Linked DNA regions of Homo sapiens: regions 2, 3, 4 and 5 are each linked to region 1. Evidence: promoter capture Hi-C in human tissues and cell types (Jung and others, 2019). All regions are on one chromosome and are shown on one strand. The core of a region is centred on a gene start or on the middle of the fragment in contact, and the rest is flanking DNA. Distances in the headings are between cores, read along the strand shown.

Region 1 (3,772 bases), core at 376-2,875:
AATATTTGTTGGATGAATGAACTGAACTGCATAGAATGCAGAAAGCCTACATATACTGGCCAGGCACAGTGGCTCACACCTGTAATCCCAGCACTTTGGGAGGCCGAGACGGGCGGATCACCTGAGGTCAGGAGTTTGAGACCAGCCTGGTCAACATAGCAAAACCCGGTCTCTATTAAAAATATAAAAATTAGCCGGGCATGGTTGTGGGCGCCTGTAATCCCAGCTACTCGGGAGGCTGAGGCAGGAGAATCGTTTGAATCTGGAAGGAGGAGGTTGAGGTGAGCCGAGATCGCACCACTGCACTCCAGCCTCGGCGACAAGAGGGAGACTCCGTCTCAAAACAACCAACCAACAAGCCTACATATCCTGCCACACGTGCTACAATCCACAGCAAACTGTTTCATCCACATTCAACCACTTTCTTAAAGTCACCATCATGATCCTATCAAGAAAACCGTAATTTATATGGTATTTTAATGTGCCTTTATAAATTACTAATCACTTTCTTCATGATGTATGTTAAAATGGCTTATGTCACCTGATGTAATCCTTAATGAGGGAAATAAAAGGCCATGATTATGCCTGGCTTTTTTTCTTATATGTTAGATTTGAGTGTTAAAATGACCTCGAAGCGGCGAAAGAAAGGAACGGAACTGCCCTCCACATTAAAAATGAGCAGGCTCCATAGGTTAATTTTACTCTTCCTCACGCACGGCACTTACATGTTGCAAACTCTCTGCTCCACAGCACGCACAGACATCCCAAATCCCGGATTGGGCCTGAGGAACATCTCTGCAAAGAGCGCCAGGAGGGCGTGGGGGTCCCGCCTCTCTCGCCAGGGACCAGGGAGTGGACACTCACTGGTCCAGTCATGAGGAACTCAGCATCCTCCTGACGGGAGGCGCCTCTTTCCCAGAAGCGGTGGGTCAGGAGGAATCTGACTAAACCCTGGGTTGCCGGCCCGGAGGGCGCGGTTGACCCCGGGGCCTCGAGGTTGTGGGCGAGGAGTAATCCGCCCGCCGAGACCGACCCGCAGATCCAGGAGACCGAAACCCGAGGGCGGCGCTCCAGGGTGCTGAGGAGACCGGAAAGGCGGCCAGGACCTTCCGGTCGCCTCGGCCCACCACCCACCCAGTGTCCGCGCAGCCCTAAAGCCTGGCAGACGCGGAGCGCACGCGGCCTTTGCCTCGGCCAGGACAGGGCAGCGGGGAGAGGGCTGCTAGACAACAATTCTTGACCCCTCCTCGACCCACGACCGCCAGGTAGGCGCGCAAAGCTCCTACACCTGCGGCGCGCCCCCGTCCCCTGGTCCAGCGGACACGCCACGCACGCAGCCCCGCCCAGCGCCGCTCGCGGTAGGGGCGGAGCCGCTGAGCTGGCCAAAGCGGATTTGCCCAGCTAGGCCAGGGGCGGGGCAGGCCCTCCCAGCCAGGACCAGCCCCAGTCTCCCCGCCCCTGAGCCGTGAAGGAAATAGGGACCTGGCCCTGGGCCTTGTGTAGCGGGAGGGGGAGCTAGGAAGCAGCTGAGGGCAGAATCCAGGAGGGCCTGGCTGCGGGGGAATGAAGCCTCCGCCTTCGCAGGCAAAAGCCTTTAAATACGGGCTCAGGCCCGGGACTCAGAGTGTAACGCGTGGCAGCCTGAGGGAGGGGCGTGCGCCGAGAGGGAGCTCAGATCGAGCGGGGCGCGGGTGGAGAAGCTGCGGCGGCGCGGCCCGTAGGAAGGTGCTGTCCGAACGATCGGGATAGGAGCGGTCCCTGCGCTTGCTGCTGGGAAGTGGGTAAGCGCCGCTCCCAGGCTGGCCCCGCCGCCCGGGCGGGATGCTCCCAGGTCTGGGCGGGATGTGGAGGGAGCGGGGCTGGGGTGTGCGCGCTGCTCCCGGTCGCTCGCTGCGCTGGGTCCCGGGCTTCCCGTCTCACGACCTTCGTCTCTTTGGGGCTTAGGGCGGGAACCGCATTTTGGAACTGCTGTCCTGGGGATGTGGTCGTCTGGGCTTCTTATTCAAGACTCGTGAGTCTTCCAGCCCCTTCTCTTTCTGCCTTTACCCACTTTCCTGACTTGGATGAGATTTCCCTGCCGCCTCCAAAGCCGAACGCCCACCACAGGAAGCGGTTCTCTCGTTGGGGACCTCATTTTGGCCGCAGAGTCGTAGTCTTTTGTTTGTGTTTAAGAGTCTGCTCACCTGAGGGGCTCCTGCTTTTCTCATGCCGCCCCTCTTAAGAAACCAAAGAGAAACGAAGCCAGAAAGCCCTCTTGAGAGCAAAATACTAAGACTGCCGTGATATCTGTCCGGGATGTCCTGGAATCCATTGTTGGCCCCCTACACCACAGAATTGCTCTGTTTGATGTCGGGGAAGGCCTTTCCTGGGTGCCTCGGGAGACCATGTTTGTGTGAGATCTTGAAAAATTATACGTCCTATAAATATATAGGAAGATAACTTAGTAGGGTTAGGAATTCTAGTATAGAGAAAAGAGGGGTTCGCTGGTAGGGATCTATTCATGGGCATACAGAGCAGTAGCTGTCTATCGACAGACCTCAAAGACACAGTGAGCCTTTGAGTTTCTTCAAATCCCTTAAGAAATGGAGAACAGTAGTCTTTCTTCAGGGGGGTTCTGGAAATGAAAGAGCTGACTGTCTGCTCTGAGATGTGCTTATTAGTGGCCAGGATCCAGTTTAAGGTAAGGGGTAGACAACCCTGATTGAAAAGATCTCATTTCTTCTCCCGTTGCTGTACTCCTTTTTCTAACAAAATCTATAACTGGATAAGCATAATCCATCTTCCTTCTTGTTTACTTCCACAGCTTTACATGATAACCCTTAGACATAAAATTAATACCGGCTTTCTTACTGATTAAATATTTTTCTCTGGTCAGGCATCTTTTACTGTTTAATTTCTGGAAATGATTAAAATGTGTGAAGCTGATGTATCCAACTATAATGCCCATCGTTAGCTCCTGGGTACCTATGCAAAATATGCTGTAGAGAGCTGGGGCTAGAAGGATTATATTCCGTTTAGATTGTAGTAGGGCATTTGTTATTTGTTAGTGACCCCTTCTGGGTTGGAATGTTTATTTGAATTTATGAAATTTTACATGAAGAGTAGTTTTGGAACGGTTTGGTTTGTTGTGACTCTCCCAAAATACAGAGGTAAAAACTCATTTCAAAATAACCCATTTAATAAGGAAACACTCCTATGTCTCTGACAGCAGAATAGAGGGCCAGAGGGTACATAAAAGTAGAAATAGAAAATGGGGGCCGGGCGTGGTGGCTCACGCCTGTAATCCCAGCACTTTGGGAGGCCGAGACGGGCGGATCACGAGGTCAGGAGATCGAGACCATCCTGGCTAACATGGTGAAATCCCGTCTCTACTAAAAATACAAAAAAAAATTAGCCGGGCGTAGTGGCGGGCGCCTGTAGTCCCAGCTACTCGGGAGGCTGAGGCAGGAGAATGGCATGAACCTGGGAGGCAGAGCTTTCAGTGAGCCGAGATTGCGCCACTGCACTCCAACCTGGGCAACTGAGCGAGACTACGTCTCAAAAAAAAAAAAGAAAAAGAAAAGAAAATGGGGCTGGGCGCAGTGGCTCACGCCTGTAATCCCAGCACTTTGGGAGGCCAAGGTGGATGGATCACCTGAGGTCAGGAGTTCGAGACCAGCCTGACCAATATGGTGAAACCCCGTCTCTACTAAATATATAAAAACTAGCTGGGCGTGGTGGTGGGCACCTGTAATCCCAGCTACTCGGGAGGCTGAGGCAGGAGAATTGCTTG
Region 2 (3,772 bases), core at 500-2,999, 330 kb after region 1:
AAGCTGAGGTGGGAGGATCCCTTGAGCCTGGGAGATTGAGGCTGCAGTGCGCCGTAATCCCACCACTGCACTCTGGCCTGGGTGACAGAGCAAGACCTTATCTCTCAGAAAAACAAAAACAGTAACAACTAAAAGATATATAATAATTTATGATAATACTGATGTACCTGTTTGAATGCACCTCAGTAAGACTTGTGTTAAGAACTGTGTAACTATGCTAATGAGTAACATCAGATAGCCACTAACTATTGGGAAGCTTTTTCATTGAGCTTTCCAGTCAGTGCAAAAACTATATATTTTTTTTTTCAGGGAAATCACATGCTTGACACTATGGGTATTTCTGAAGGTCTTGGGATAGATAAATCCTCAAGAGTCCCAAGGGTAATTCTACTAATGAGAAGAATAGTTAAGTGTATAGATTCTGGAGCCAGACTGCCTAGCTTTGAATCTTAGCTCCACTACCTACTGAAAAAACCTTGCGTAAGTTACTTAACCTTTTCTTTTCTTTTTCTTTCTTTTTTTTTTTTTTTTTTTTGAGATAGAGTCTTGCTCTGTTTCCCAGGCTGGAGTGCAGTGGTGTAATCTCAGCTCACTGCAGCTTCTGCCTCCTGGGTTCAAGCAATTCTCCTGCCTCAGCCTCCCAAGTAGCTGGGATTACAGGAGCCCACTACCACACCTGGTTAATTTTTTTGTATTTTTTGTAGAGACGGGGTTTCACCATGTTGGCTGGTTTCGAACTCCTGACCTCAAGTGACCCGCCTGCCTCGGCCTTCCAAAATGCTGGAATTACAGGGATGAGCCACCATGCCCAGCCAACCTTTCTATTCCTTACTCACTTCATCCATAAATTGGGAATAATAGTAGGACCTCTCATAGGGTTGAGGATCAATTGAATTAAAGCACTGACCAAAGTGCAAGGTACATATGAAATGCTATCACAGTGTCAGCTATTTTAGCTGTTACTGAGAGCAGAGACCACATTCATTTTATTCTTCGTACCCTCAAAGAATCTAATACAGTACCTATGCAGAAAGCAGGTATTAAATGAATGCTTTAAGTGAGTAGACCCCAAGGCAGGAGTTTGCCTAGTGTGTTAGAGGCTCAGCAAGGACAATGTGGTTGGAGCAGACAAATGAGGAGGGAAGAACATGAGATGAGGTCAGAGAGGTTGCGAAGGCCAGATTATGGAAAATTTGTTCTGGCCATTTTAAGGCCTTTTGCTTTTATCCTGGGTGAGACAGAAACCATTGAAGAGTTCTGAGCAGAGGGCTCATTCTGGCCTCTGGGTTGAGAAGATTCTAGAGTGGGGCAAGAGTTGAAATGGAGAGGCCAGTAAAGAGGAGACTGCAGAAATTAAGGTAGAAAATGTCTGAGACCACACCATGGTGGCAGCAGTAGAGATGGTGAGACCGGCTGGATTCTGGAGATATTTGGAGGTTGAGTCTGTAAGATTTTCTGACAAATTAGTTATGGAGAGTATGAGAAAGAAAAGAGTCAAGGATGGCCCTAAACATTGGCCTAACAATTTGGAAGAATGGAATGCCAACAATGGTGGAAGGCAAAGCTGTGAGTCAAGAAGGTTTTGGAGATACTAAATTTGAAGTGTATACTAGACACCTCACTGAAGATGTTGAGTAAGCGTTGGAGGTATGAGTCTACAGTGTGGAAAAGATATAAATTTGGGAGTTTTCAGGATATAGACAGTATTTCATATCAGGAGACCAGAACACAAAAGTGAAGGAAATATTCAGAGAAGAGACTGGGGCTACAGAGATTTTGCTGATCATAGATTAAGGGACTTGGGTGTTAAATGGAACTGGGTGTCCAAAGAAACAGGCATTAGGAAGGGGAAAAGACTATACAATGACAAGTAGGAAGATGCCAAAGACATCTTTCTATACCCAAGAAAGGGAGAAGAAAATCTCTTCTTCCTCCTCCTCCTTATATACCTCAAAGCCCTTTTGCTTCCAGTGCTCAGAAATCAAGTTAGTCTTAACACCAATAATAACAGTTAATAGACAAACTAATTTAAAGTTGATATTTGTAACTTAAAAAAATTTAGTTTAACTTTTCAAATAGTTCAATGACATTAATGTTTAGCTATAGCACCCAAAATTAATGTTAACATTAAAGAGATACATATATGTAAAACTAATTTGAAATGATCGTCTTGAATGGAAGGGCACTTTCTCAAGTATCTGTGGGTGCCATGATCTCCAGAGTGTAATTCCTTTATTAGCAGTAAGTTATACTTTTCCTGGCCACCTGGATGCAATTAAGCCCACTAGGTTCTACCATTCATCACAATGATGTTACAATAATTGACAAGAATAGATGTTTCTTCTTGGCTATTCAGAGGGCAGATGCCAAGTGACCAGAGGTTGGGGGAATCAAAGAGCCAAAACAAGAAGGTCAAACAAGGAGGGACATAAAAACACCCTCTGGCTGCATATCCTGAGGCAAATGGAACTCATAGTCCACATCTAGATTTAACTAGGATTTGGAGAAGGTGAGGGGTCAGAATTAGAAATCTTGCTTCTATCCAAGCAGTAAATGTTTTTTTTTGTTTGTTTGTTTTTTTGTTTTTTTTTTTTGAGATGAAGTCTCACTCTGTCACCCAGGCTGCAGTGCAGTGGCGCGATCTCTGCTCACTGCAACATCCACCCTCCGAGTTCAAGTGATTCTCCTGCCTCAGCCTCCCGAGTAGCTGGGATTACAGGCGGCTGCCACTGTGCCCGGCTAATTTTTTGTATTTTTAGTAGAGATGGGGTTTCACTATCTTGGCCAGGCTGGTCTTGAACTCCTGACCTCGTGATCCACCCATCTTGGCCTCCCAAAGTGCTGGGATTACAGGCGTGAGCCACCACGGACTCAAGCAGTAAATGTTTTAATCTACCATGTGGACTAAAATTACCACATATTATAATGCAACTAAATTAACTAAAATTAATAACAAAAATAGCACATATTATCAAAATGTGTTCATATGTGTATGAGCTATTCCTCGTCCAGAGGTACAGTCTGGGTGGGAAAGGACAAATGGAAGCCATGCTGTTAATGTCCTGATGCGAAAGGCACAGCCTGACTTTAACTCAATCTATTCTATGTACCCTGGCAAGTTCTTAGTAAGCAGTGAACAGGGATCTTCATGTTTAGCTAAATGTAAGACTTGCGGAGGGACATGGGGAGGGGGTTTGTACTGCAAAATTTCCATTGCAAGATCAGGGAAACCTGAGGCGGCAGAATTTACATTGAGGTAGAGCATCTCAAATATTTAGCAGTGTTTCCAGCTATCACCTACCAAGGACAGGAATCTTTCGAGATGTCTGATGATTATAAATAAGCAAATTTCCTTTAACAGTTCCAACAGCCAGGAAACTTCCAACTTTTGACCAAAGAAGGAAAGACATTTGATCCCTGTAACATTAAGATATAAATTACTAAACAATTCACGATCATAACCTCTAAACAGTCCTTTAAAAAAGTACTCCTTGGATAATTTTAACATCTACTTAGAAGCCAAAGTACAAAATACAACTTAATGCTTTAGGACAAAGACTAAATGCTAAAGATATTTTGGAGATGCTACAGAATGATCTTAGGGTCAGTTAGACTCAAAATACAAAAGTATAATGAATGTAGACTTCAGTTATGATGGAACCTCAAAATTCATGAGATGACCTATGATGAGATATTTATTAATTTGTCTATTAATGATAGTTTTAGCTCTAAATGTGATTACAAAAATATTAATGGATGGTGAAACCTCATA
Region 3 (3,772 bases), core at 349-2,848, 300 kb before region 1:
TGCCGGGATTACAGGCGTGAGCCACCGCGCCTGGCCGGAAATTTTTTTTTTTTTTTGTGGAGATGAAGTCTCACTCTGTCACCCAGGCTGGAGTGTAGTGGCGCAGTCTTGGCTCACTGCGACCTCCACCTCCTGGATTAAAGCAATTTTTCTGCTTCAGCCTCCCGAGTAGCTAGAACTACAGGTGTGTGCCACCACACCAGCTAATTTTTGTGTTTTTGTAGAGATGAGGTTTCACCATATTGGTCAGGCTGGTCCTGATCTCCTGACCTCGTGATCCACCCACCTCGGCCTCCCAAAGTGCTGGGATTACAGGTGTGAGCCACCATGCCCGGCCTCAGCTGATGTTTTGACTGCCCTTCAGTTGAATGGTCAAAATCCTGAAAGTGCCAACTATTTTTATTTCATGTGGAACTGCAGCTTCCACCTTGCTACAAGATTCTAAACATAGCTCTCATTAACTGCTAGTATTCCCTGTGAGTGATTTGACATTCCACCTGCATTTTCCTGAGACCTGGTGAGGATCATCCTGTTAAGGTTTTATATCATTACAGTTTCAACCAACTAACTGGTAAGAGAAGACATAGAGGTGCCAAACCTGAGAGCAATCAAACACACCGCTGAGCTACAGGGTGATAGAATCAGCTCTCCTTAGGGGCCTTGCATTGTGGAGTCTGATCGGGATTGCTGCACTAAGTTCAGCCCTGGGTTTTATTTGATAAAGAAGGCCTGGCACCCTTGTGCTTCTCTGTGGCCCTGCATTCTAACTCCAGGTGCCCAATTTATCAGTCTTTTATTTTTCCTTGCATGATTCTCCACACCTTTCACTTGCTTTATTTTTCACTTCCTAGATGATCATTTTCGGCTCTGTTCACAACTCTGCAGTAATATCTCAAAAGAGCTTACCTCTTAACCTCACCCCAGTCATCTATAGGTGCTCTTTTGTCGATCTGAGTACAGAATCCCACCCCAGAGTGGTACTTTACACTTGCACCACCTCCAGAAAGCTTGTGCAGTTGTATTACTTGGTATTTACTATCATATTTTATTATCATTAATTAGTGAAAACCATTTTTGAGGCCCTAGTATATGCCAACTACAGTTTACACTTTAGGTTTGTTAACTTCATTTCATCTTCAGCTCTTTTAGGTAGATTTCTGATGTGTGAGGCTTCTAGAGCCATTTTAATACCACAGCCATAACTTCTAATATGTGGCAAGTGCTAACCCTCGCAGAATTCCTCTTACTAGGTTTTTACTCAAAACATTAGGTCAGTAATGATTATTTTTAGCTTGATTCCTACCTATAGGGTTTATTTACTGGTTCAAGGATACTTTATTCCACCAAAACAGAGAGAGGAAGATATGCAAAATTCTCCTGGCCTCAGTTTTAGCTGGGAGCTGATGCTAAAGGTTTTAACTTGTAAAGGTAACGTTAGAATTTTTAGATCGGATTTTTGTGGTAAATGTATTCCCTCAGCTATTTGCATGTATGTGGGTTTCAGTAAGTATTCCTGTTTATGTTTTGGGCTGCATTTAGACTTGTTATTCCTTTTGCAAAAATTCCTTGAGTTCACCCAATAAAACCAGTAAAAATCAGCCATTTGCAGTGTGGTCAGGAAACAGTCAACAGTATTAGCTGGACATTAGTGTTGGGTCTCTGAGTTTCGGATGAAGGAATGATCATTTCAGTAGTTTAGTTCACTTGTTTTTCCTCTTTGTGTTAAGGCTATCATTCAGAGGGCAAACAGTTCCCGGTGTTGTGAATTGAAAATATGTTCTGAATAGATTTGCTGATTGTTGAGTATGTTTTGCTTACACTTAAGGCCAAATTCTTCCTTGAAGATGAGCTTGTCAATAAACATCAATGGAAAAATAACCCCAAATTTGTGACTTCTGGGGAATTTGAATTTAAAGAGAATATCTGTAGGATAACAGACTGTGGGTTTCTAGTCGTTGGATTAACATGTTTTGTTTAGCATGCTTAGTGTGGGAGTGTTCAAGGATCTTAGAATTTGTTTTTCTTAAAGCAAAGAATTGACTGAGTTTTTGTGCTCATTTGTATAATGAGAAGGTTTCCTCCCATCATGTGGGTTCGTATCTCAAAATTAACCCCTAAGTATATATCCTCAAATGTGTATCCTCATGTGTTAAACAGCTATATATTAGTTCAATATGAATTTTTTTTAGTAACAAGTGAATTTTTCTCAAAATAACATGAAATTTTTCAGAAGCCAAGTGCTTGCAGTGATGGCAGTTCATCTTGGTACATAGAATCAAGTCCAGGAGCTCTTCCAGTGACCTGGGTCTTTCAGAAGTCTGTGAGAGCAGCCCAAGAAATACAGAGGACTCAGGGCTAGGAAAGGGAAGCTTCCTGAAGGTGTAGCAGGCAGCTTGTAAATAATTCTTTGGCCGGGTCCAGTGGTTCATGCCTGTAATCTCAGCACTTTGGAGGCCAAAGCAGGCTGATCACTAGGTCAGGAGTTCAAGACCAGCCTGGCCAACATAGTGAAACCCCATCTCTACTAAAAATACAAAAATTAGCTGCGCGTGGGGGCGCAACCTATAGTCCCAGCTACTCAAGAGGCCGAGGCAGGAGAATCGCTTGAACCTGGGAGGTGGAGGTTGTGGTGAGCCGAGATCATGCCAAGCACTCCAGCCTGGGCAACAGAGCAAGACTCTGCCTCAAAAAAAAAAAAATTCTTTAATAGCATATTGTTAAAATTGCTTCAAATAGTATAACAAATTAATAGTCTCTGTATGAATTGTAATAATCACTTAGCTCTTTTAGCATTGTTACCTTTATAAAATATGTATGTAGTAAAGGAGTTTGGGAATATATCTTTCTTTCTCTTTTAGGTGTAAAATTGTGGAAAAGGAGACAGTCTTACTACTGATCAGGCTGATTAAAAATGTAGAATGGGCCGGGCGTGGTGGTTCATGCCTGTAATCCCAGCACTTTGGGAGGCCGAGGCAGGCAGACCACGAGGTCTAGAGTTCAAGACCATCCTGACCAACATGGTGAAACACCGTCTCTACTAAAAATACAAAAAATGAGCTGGGCATGGTGGCACGCACCTGTAGTCCCAGCTACTCAGGAGGCTGAGACAGGAGTATCGCTTGAACCCGGGAGGTGGAGCTTGCAGTGAGCCCAGATCACACCACTGCACTCCAGCCTGGCAACAGAGCGAGACTCCATCTCAAATAAATAAATAAATAAATAAATAAATAAAAATGTGGAATGAATTAGGCAAGTTGGGCTGCTAATGCCTTGCCACTGAATTGAACAGCCACAGACAAACCAGAATGCACTTCTCAGGGCAAAAGAACAAATATTGATGAAGTCAATCCCAACATGCTCATTCCTTTTCCCTAATCTCATCTATTAGATGAGTTCCTCCTTCTCCCAAAGAGGAGTAGGTGAGAGGAGGTGAGAAAGAGGCCATGTCCCACTCTCCTGTGCTTCCAGGGATCAGAATTTCCCTCCCTATTAGGGAAATGCGTTTAAAAAAAAAAAAAAAACACGCCAGTTTGGTTGGGATGTTTTTAGTATGCTAAAACGTTTATGTTTACCCAGCTCATGAGTCAGAAGTTATTTTGCTGCTTATAAATTCATTTTGCCATAGTATGATAAATAGCTTTTAATGTTGTAAGCAAATAGGGCATTGGATAGCAGCACTAAGTCATTGAAAACAAAAACTTCTTTATTGGTGTTTGGTTTTTATATAGTTTAGGGAAAGGCTCTTTAAACCAAGTTTCAGGTGAAAAAATGA
Region 4 (3,772 bases), core at 904-3,403, 300 kb after region 1:
TTATCTATTCACCTATCCATTTTTTCATCCAACACACATTTACTGAACTCGTTACATGCTTGGAAACATGATACAAAAATCAACCACAGTTGCTGTCCTTAAGGCAGTCACAATTGGGGAAGGTGGAAGAGACAGATAAGGAAACAAATGACTATAGCATAGTTTGACAGAGGTAACTGAGTACTTACAATAGGTAACTCTTTGTGCTAAGTCTTTTGCATAAATTCTCTTACCCTAATAACCCTACCCACTAAGTATTATTATTATGTCTCCTTTATAGATTAGGAAAATGAGGCTTAGAGACGTCAAAAGACTAGCCCAAGGCACACAGAGGTAAGTGGTGTCATGCTCTTCACCACTGTGTATACTGCATCCTGGCTCTGAGGCAACACATCAGAAAGACCCCAAGCAGGACTGCCTGTGGTGGTGGGGAAGTCGGGGAAGGCTTCCTGGAGCAGGAGATGGCTCCACTTATCGCTGATGGGTAAAGAAAGAGGGGTTACTACATTCAGAGCAGGGAAAGGGCATTCCAGGAAGAATCATGAAATATATGCAATTTCAGCAGCCAGTGGAACAGAGAGGGACTTGAGTGGAGACAGTTGAGCTGGTGTTAAATCATGAAGTGCCTAGTAGGTCATAGAGGTCCCCCAGGAATGGATTTGTTTGTAAAGGCAATAGAAAGTCACTGAAGGATCCTGAGCAGGGAAATAAGAGGATCAAATCACATCTTCAAAAGTGTGTGGAGAACAGATGAGATCGTTACAAGGCTATTGGCAGACAGAGCAGTTAGGAAGTGGTTAGTTACATTACACATTATTCCAGGTGAGGGCCTGGGTAAAGATGAGGGAACACGGGAGGAGGAAAGGAGCTGGTGTATATGTGTGTTAAGGCATGTGCATGTGTGATTACAGTGAGGGAAAATAGGGGCCTGTGGAAATTGATGAGTTCAGTTTTAGAAAGGGCAAGTTTGAAGAGCTCATGGACTTCCAAGGACACATGACTGGAAGGTAGTTGTAAGTACAGGTTTAAGATAAAGACACAGATTTTAGAGTCAGCTTCATATGGGTGGTATGTTGAGCCATGTTAAGCAGAGGAGATTCACTCAGGAAGAATAATTAGAGTAAGAAGAGAAGGAAACTCATGAGACCCCAATAAACAGCAGCATTTAAGAGAGGCTCGGAAGAATTAGAACGTCAAAGGAATTCACGGTGGCTCTAGGAGATAAGAGAAAAAAACAGTAAAAGGAAATTATAAGCAAAGCAAAATCAAACCTCACTATGATGAAGTCAAGATATTGTTGAAATAATTAGGTTTATTTTATTAGGATTTCCCAATAACTAGGCTCTCTGGAAGCTTAGAAACCGTTTTGTTCTTAAGGGCTTTTCTTGTAATAAAGTACTCATAATAAAAACAGCTGACTATCTTATCTGAGCCTCACAATATCCCTGTGAAATGAACAAGGTAAGTGCTGTTATCTCCATCTATTGAATAGGATTTGACATTTTATCAAAAAGACACCTGCACTCATATGTTTACTGCAGCACTATTCACAATAGCAAAGTCATGGAATCAACTTAAGTGTCCATCAACAGATGACTGGATTTTAAAAAGTGGTGTGTATATATAGATATACACACTATGGAATACTACTCAGCCATTAAAAAAATGAAATCATGTCTTTTGCAGCAATATGGATGGAATTCGAGGTCATTATCCTAAGTGAAATGCCCCAAAGTCAAAAACTGCATGTTCTCACTTAGAAGTGGGAGGTAAACAATGGGTACACATGGACATACAGGTGGAATAATAGATACTGGCAACTCCAAAAGGCGGGATGGTGAGACAGGGTTGAGGGATAAAATACTACCCACTGGGTACAGTGTTCACTATTCTGGTGATGGGTACATTAAAAGCCCAGACTTCACCATATGCACTATATCCATGTAGCACAACTGCACTTGTACTTCTACATTTACAAAAAAAAAAAAAATTCTTGCAAGGATAAAGAATAAAGCAATAAAATAAGATAGAATAATTATAGGATTTGACCTTTAAAATCACAAAAGCAAATGAGAAGTTCCAAAAGAAGTGTGTGAAAGCCTACCTCTTTAGCATTAAATTCTGTGCCAGCATTGGTCTCAGTTCGTCAGGCCCCGTATCTTTTAAGTTGCTGAGAAAGCCATGGGTGCTAAGGTAGATGTTGTTTACTTTTCCACTCTGTGTTTGGCAGGTCAGCTCTCCATTATATAGCAGCAAAGGTTTATGAGCAAAAGGAACTTTGGTGCTACCAGCCAAAATAACCTTGGCTCCTACATTATAAAACAGACATCGCAATGCTGAAAGCTAATACTCAGCACAAACATCAGAAAGAATGTTTTAATTTTACTGCAATGGGAAATTCATCTGTCAGCGAATATACACAAAAGGGGTTTAGTACCTTGTATAGTGTCCTTGTGAAAGACATAAGTGTACACCTTATCATCATCATAAGCAATAAATACACCTTTATCCATTGGCCAGTTTTCCCAAAGAACACCTTTAATGGTTGGTGAAAAATCTGGAATCTCATAGGTAGCGTCATTGACCTACAAAATAAAATTTACAGATTTGCCCCAAGTCTGTACTTGAATCATTATCATTTGCCGTGGTAGAAGCCTGTTTGCAGCCTTAGCTGGCTTAGCTTACTGAGTCATATTCAACCTAACATCACTCCAACAACAACAGGAAAGAAAGTTTCTTTTTCCATTCCTATCCTAGGTCTGGCTTGAAAAAACTATAGTTATTTGGAAAAGCCAAGGTTTGATCTAAAATCTGGCAAATTTGTAGGAGAACCCACAAGTCTAGACACAAAGCTTCAGGTTAAGGAAAAAAAATTAAAGCTGCTCAGGATGACAGAAATTTAAACTACGAACACACTTGTACTTGTGTTTAGAAATTTTTCAATAATACTGAGTATTTGATAATAGTGGGTATTAAGAAACAAATTAACTCACATGATTGAAGTAAATTACACTAGGGATACTTTATTTCAAAAGCTTCTCTAAAATGCATGTCAACAAATATAAATATACAATCATCCCTCAACATCCATGAGGGATTGGTTCCAGGATCTCCCACGGATAGCAAAACCCACAGATGGCCAAATCCCTGAATAAAATGGTGTAATATGTGTATAAACTATGTACACCCTCCCTTATACTTTAAATCATCTCTAGATTACTTATAATACCTAATACAATATAAATGCTATGTAAATAGTTGTCATACTGTATGGGGAATATAGACAACAAAAGTTTTCTGCACAGGTTTAGCACAGACAAAACCATCCATTTTTCCCCTGAATATTTTTGATCTACAGTTGGCTGAATCCATGGATGAGGAACCCACAGATAGGGTGGGCTGACTGTAATATTATACTAAATAAGCTGTTTACAAAAATCAGTCCATATAAGTCCTGTGAACTCAGGCAGGTAGGCTTGTATATATCCTGAATAGGGAACTGAAAAATATCTGCCTCATCCTACTCTCAAAATGAGAATGAAATATAAAATTCTTGCAAATAATAATTCATACTACAAAGCTGTGTTATTTAACATAGTAGTTGCTATTATAACATCTACATGTAGCCAGATGTACCTATTAAGCACTGAAATGTGCCAAGTCCGAATTGAGATATGTTTAAGTGTAAACTACACAGAGAGTTCGCATGAAAAAAAGATTGTAAAATATCTCATTACTTTTTTTATATTCAATTACACATTGAAATGATAAT
Region 5 (3,772 bases), core at 861-3,360, 280 kb before region 1:
CCACACAATCACAACCACTCACACCCACACCCACACACAATCACAACCACACTCACACCCACACCCACACAATCACAACCACACACACCCACACCCACACACAATCACAACCACTCACACCCACACCCACAATCACAACCACACACACCCACACCCACACACAATCACAACCACACACACCCACACCCACGCACAATCACAACCACACTCACACCCATATCCACACACAATCACAACCACTCACACCCATACCCACACAATCACAACCACACACACCCACACACAATCACAACCACACACACCCACACACAATCACAACCACACTCACACCCACACACAATCACAACCACTCACACCCATACCCACACACAATCACAACCACACACACCCACACCCACACACAATCACAACCACTCACACCCACACACAATCACAACCACACTCACACCCACACCCACACAATCACAACCACTCACACCCACACCCACACAATCACAACCACACACCCACACAATCACAACCACTCACACCCACACCCACACACAATCACAACCACACTCACACCCACACCCACACAATCACAACCACTCACACCCACACCCACACAATCACAACCACACACCCACACACAATCACAACCACACCCACACACAATCACAACCACACTCACACCCACACCCACACACAATCACCACTCACACCCACACCCACACAATCACAACCACACTCACACCCATACCCACAGACACCCACACCACAATCACAACCACGCACCCACACTCACAGACACCCGCACCCATATGGGGTCTCACTCTGTTGCTCAGGCTAAGTGCAGTGGCACAATCACGGCTCACTGCAGCCTCCGAGTAGCTGGGACAACAGGGTGAGCAGCACCACGTCTGGTTAATTTTTTATTTTTTGTAGAGCCAGAGTCTCACTATGTTGCCCAGGCCTGTCTCAAACTCTTGGATGCAAGCCATCCTACCACTTCGGCCTCCCAAATAGCTCAAAGCAATCACAATACATTAGACAGCATTTTATTACTGTCTTTATATATTTCCGTGATTATAGAATTCATTCATTTTCTGTATCCCACCTTTCCCACCAAAAGACAGAACTTTCCATCTCTCCAACATCTTCCATTTCTCTCTCCCTACAGACTTGTATCCTTCTGTCACAAAATGTGCCTGGCACAAGTGTCTCACACCTGACTCTATTTTGTAATTATTGTAGTTCCCTTTAAACAGTCAGATTGTTCCCCAAAATTTTAGCTCATCACCCTCTAACTTCTACACTAGCTGTTAATCCCATCAGTCGATCAAACCTCCTCAGGGATTGGAAGAGAACAACTAACAAAATGCTCAGGCCAGGCACGGTGGCTCATGCCTGCAATCCTCAAGTGAGTGGATCACCTGAGGTCATGAGTTCGAGACCAGCCTGGCCAACATAGCGAAACACCATCTCTACTAAAAATACAAAAGAATTAGTCGGGCATGGTGGTGTGTGCCTGTAATCCCAGCTACTCAGGAGGTTGAGGCAAGAGAATCACTTGAACCCGGGAGGTGGAGGTTGCAGTGAGCGGAGATTGTGCCACTGCACTCCAGCCTGGGCAACAGTGCGAGACTCCGTCTCAAAAAAAAAAAAATGCTCAAACCGTTGGCCACATACAATGTCTAGCTCTAATATGCTCCACCTTTCTGATGCACTTAATGTCACTGATGGCACCCTCCTTAGTCCCATTTCCTCTGCTCCTCTTGATTTTTATGACAAATTTAATAAAGTTGATATTAATTAAGTGCTTGTTACATGCCCTGACGTAAAAATATTGTGCATAAGGAGTTTACAATCAACAGACAGCTAACAAAAATATAGAAGGTGAGGCTGGGCATGGCGGCTCACGCCTGTAATCCTGGCACTTTGGGAGCCCGAGGCAGGAGGATTGCTTGAGGCCAGGAGTTTGAGACCAGCCTGGGCAACACAGTGAGACCCCTATCTTTTTTTTTTTTTTTTTTTTTTTTGAGACAGAGTCTCATCTTTCACTGAGGCTGGAGTGCAGTGACGTAATCTCGGCTCACTGCAACCTCCACCTCCCGGGTTCAAGTGATTCTCCTGCCTCAGCCTCCCAAGTAGCTGGGACTACAGTCACGTGCCACAACGCCCGGCTAATTTTTATTTTTATTTTTATTTTTAGTAGATACGGGGTTTCACCGTGTTAGCCAGGATGATCTCGATCTCCTGACTTTGTGATCCACCCGCCTTGGCCTCCCAAAGTGCTAGGATTACAGGCGTGAGCCACCACACCTGGCCGAGACCCCTATCTTTACAAAAAAAAAAAAAAAAATTAGCCAGCACCCACCTGTCATCCTTGCTACTCGGGTGGCTGAGGTGGGAGGATCAATTGAGACTAGGAAGTTGAGACTGCAGTGAGCCATGAGTGTGCCACTGCGTTCTAGCTTGGGCAACAGAGTGAAACCCTGTCTCAAACAAACAAACAACAACAAAAAAGAATATAAAAGGTGGAATATGTATCACTACTGGAACAATTGAGTCCTGTGGGAGATTTGGGAAGTTTCATGGAAGCGGTCGAATTTGGAGGTGGCCTTAAAGGATAAGATTTCGATTTATAGAAATGGAAAGCCTGGGTAGCATGGTGAAACCCAGTCTCCACAAAAAAACTACAAAAATTAGCTGAGTGTGGTGGCTTGTGCCTGTATCCCAGCTTCTTGGGAAGCTGAGGTGGTAGGATCGCTCGAGCCCGGGAGGTCAAGGCTGCAGTGAGCTGAGATGATGCCATTGCACTCCAGCCCGGGCAACAGAGCAAGACTCTACCTCGAAAATAAAAAAGAAGAAATGGAAGAGAATCGCATTACAAAAGGAGAAACAGTAATTTTAAATGCGCAGTGACAGGAAGCACAATGTGTACTTGGAGAAATGTAATTAAAATACAGAGAAAACGAAAGATCTTTGACTATCAACTTTTATTTTTAAAAAAGAATACACAGTGGCTAAAGAAACAAAAGGCTTACAATGAAAGTAAGTCTTCTGCCCTAGTGTTTTCTAGTCCCAAAGCTTACTCTTGACAAGATTTCTTAACTGTTTCTTCAGATAGTTGCCATATTTTAAAATAACATGCTTTGAATTTTTTTTTTTTTTTAGGTACACCTACTGAAATGGGAACTATTTCTTAATGTATACATTTTGGGTATTAGTCTGTTTTCGTTTTTGTTTGTTTGTTTGTTTGTTTTTGAGACAGAGTCTCACTCTATTACCCAGGCTGGAGTGCAGGGCTCCACCACCTGGGTTCAAGCGATTCTCTTGCCTCAGCCTCCCGAGTAGCTGGGATTTCAGGCAGCCGCCACCACGCCCAGCTAATTTTTGTATTTTTAGTAGAGACGAGGTTTCACCGTGTTGACCAGGCTGGTCTCAAACTTATGACCTCAGCTGATCCACCTGCCTTGGCCTCCCAAAGTTCTGGGATTATAGGCATGAGCCACCGCACCCGAACTACTCCTTTCTCATACTGCTATAAAGAACTGCTGGAGACCGGGTAATTTATAAAGGAAAGAGGTTCACAGTTCAGGATGGCTGGGGAGGCCTCAGGAAACTTAGAATCATGGCGGAAGGGGAAGCAAACATGTCCTTCTTCACATGGAGGCAGCAAGGTGAAGTGTACAATGAAGTGTGGGAGGGAAGCCCCTTATAAAACCATTAGATCTGGGCCAGGCAAGGTGGCTCACGCCTGTAATCCCACCACTTTGGGAGGCCAAGGTGG

Evidence for each region. Contacts are between HindIII fragments. The study calls those that stand out against the background at their distance.
Region 2: a fragment that was not itself captured here is called in contact with the fragment with the promoter of UGDH in region 1 in 1 of the 25 tissues and cell types used here (hippocampus).
Region 3: a contact is called between a fragment that was not itself captured here and the fragment with the promoter of UGDH in region 1, in 5 of the 25 tissues and cell types used here (H1 embryonic stem cells, IMR-90 fibroblasts, dorsolateral prefrontal cortex and 2 more).
Region 4: a contact is called between a fragment that was not itself captured here and the fragment with the promoter of UGDH in region 1, in 2 of the 25 tissues and cell types used here (bladder and stomach).
Region 5: a fragment that was not itself captured here is called in contact with the fragment with the promoter of UGDH in region 1 in 1 of the 25 tissues and cell types used here (mesenchymal stem cells).

Annotation. Positions count from the first base shown.
Region 1 is chr4:39,525,292-39,529,063 of GRCh38, reverse strand. UGDH (UDP-glucose 6-dehydrogenase) reads left to right here and starts at 1,625. Exons shown (of 12, transcript NM_003359.4): 1 at 1,625-1,781. It overlaps UGDH-AS1 (UGDH antisense RNA 1), which reads right to left and starts at 1,225. Exons shown (of 5, transcript NR_047679.1): 1 at 726-1,225. RefSeq lists an enhancer at 741-800 and silencers at 1,181-1,480, 1,731-1,910. The HindIII fragment of the contact is 14,033 bases long and covers 1-3,772 here.
Region 2 is chr4:39,194,189-39,197,960 of GRCh38, reverse strand. WDR19 (WD repeat domain 19) reads right to left here. Exons shown (of 37, transcript NM_025132.4): 5 at 3,302-3,417. Among named protein-coding and RNA genes, the nearest start is that of WDR19, 14 kb to the right of the region's middle. The HindIII fragment of the contact is 4,911 bases long and covers 1-3,772 here.
Region 3 is chr4:39,825,934-39,829,705 of GRCh38, reverse strand. All of the region lies in intron 32 of PDS5A (PDS5 cohesin associated factor A), which reads left to right. Among named protein-coding and RNA genes, the nearest start is that of UBE2K, 130 kb to the right of the region's middle. The HindIII fragment of the contact is 5,783 bases long and covers 1-3,772 here.
Region 4 is chr4:39,227,023-39,230,794 of GRCh38, reverse strand. WDR19 (WD repeat domain 19) reads right to left here. Exons shown (of 37, transcript NM_025132.4): 16 at 2,438-2,585; 17 at 2,105-2,309. Among named protein-coding and RNA genes, the nearest start is that of WDR19, 46 kb to the right of the region's middle. The HindIII fragment of the contact is 3,095 bases long and covers 606-3,700 here.
Region 5 is chr4:39,809,731-39,813,502 of GRCh38, reverse strand. No RefSeq gene overlaps it. Among named protein-coding and RNA genes, the nearest start is that of UBE2K, 110 kb to the right of the region's middle. The HindIII fragment of the contact is 6,292 bases long and covers 1-3,772 here.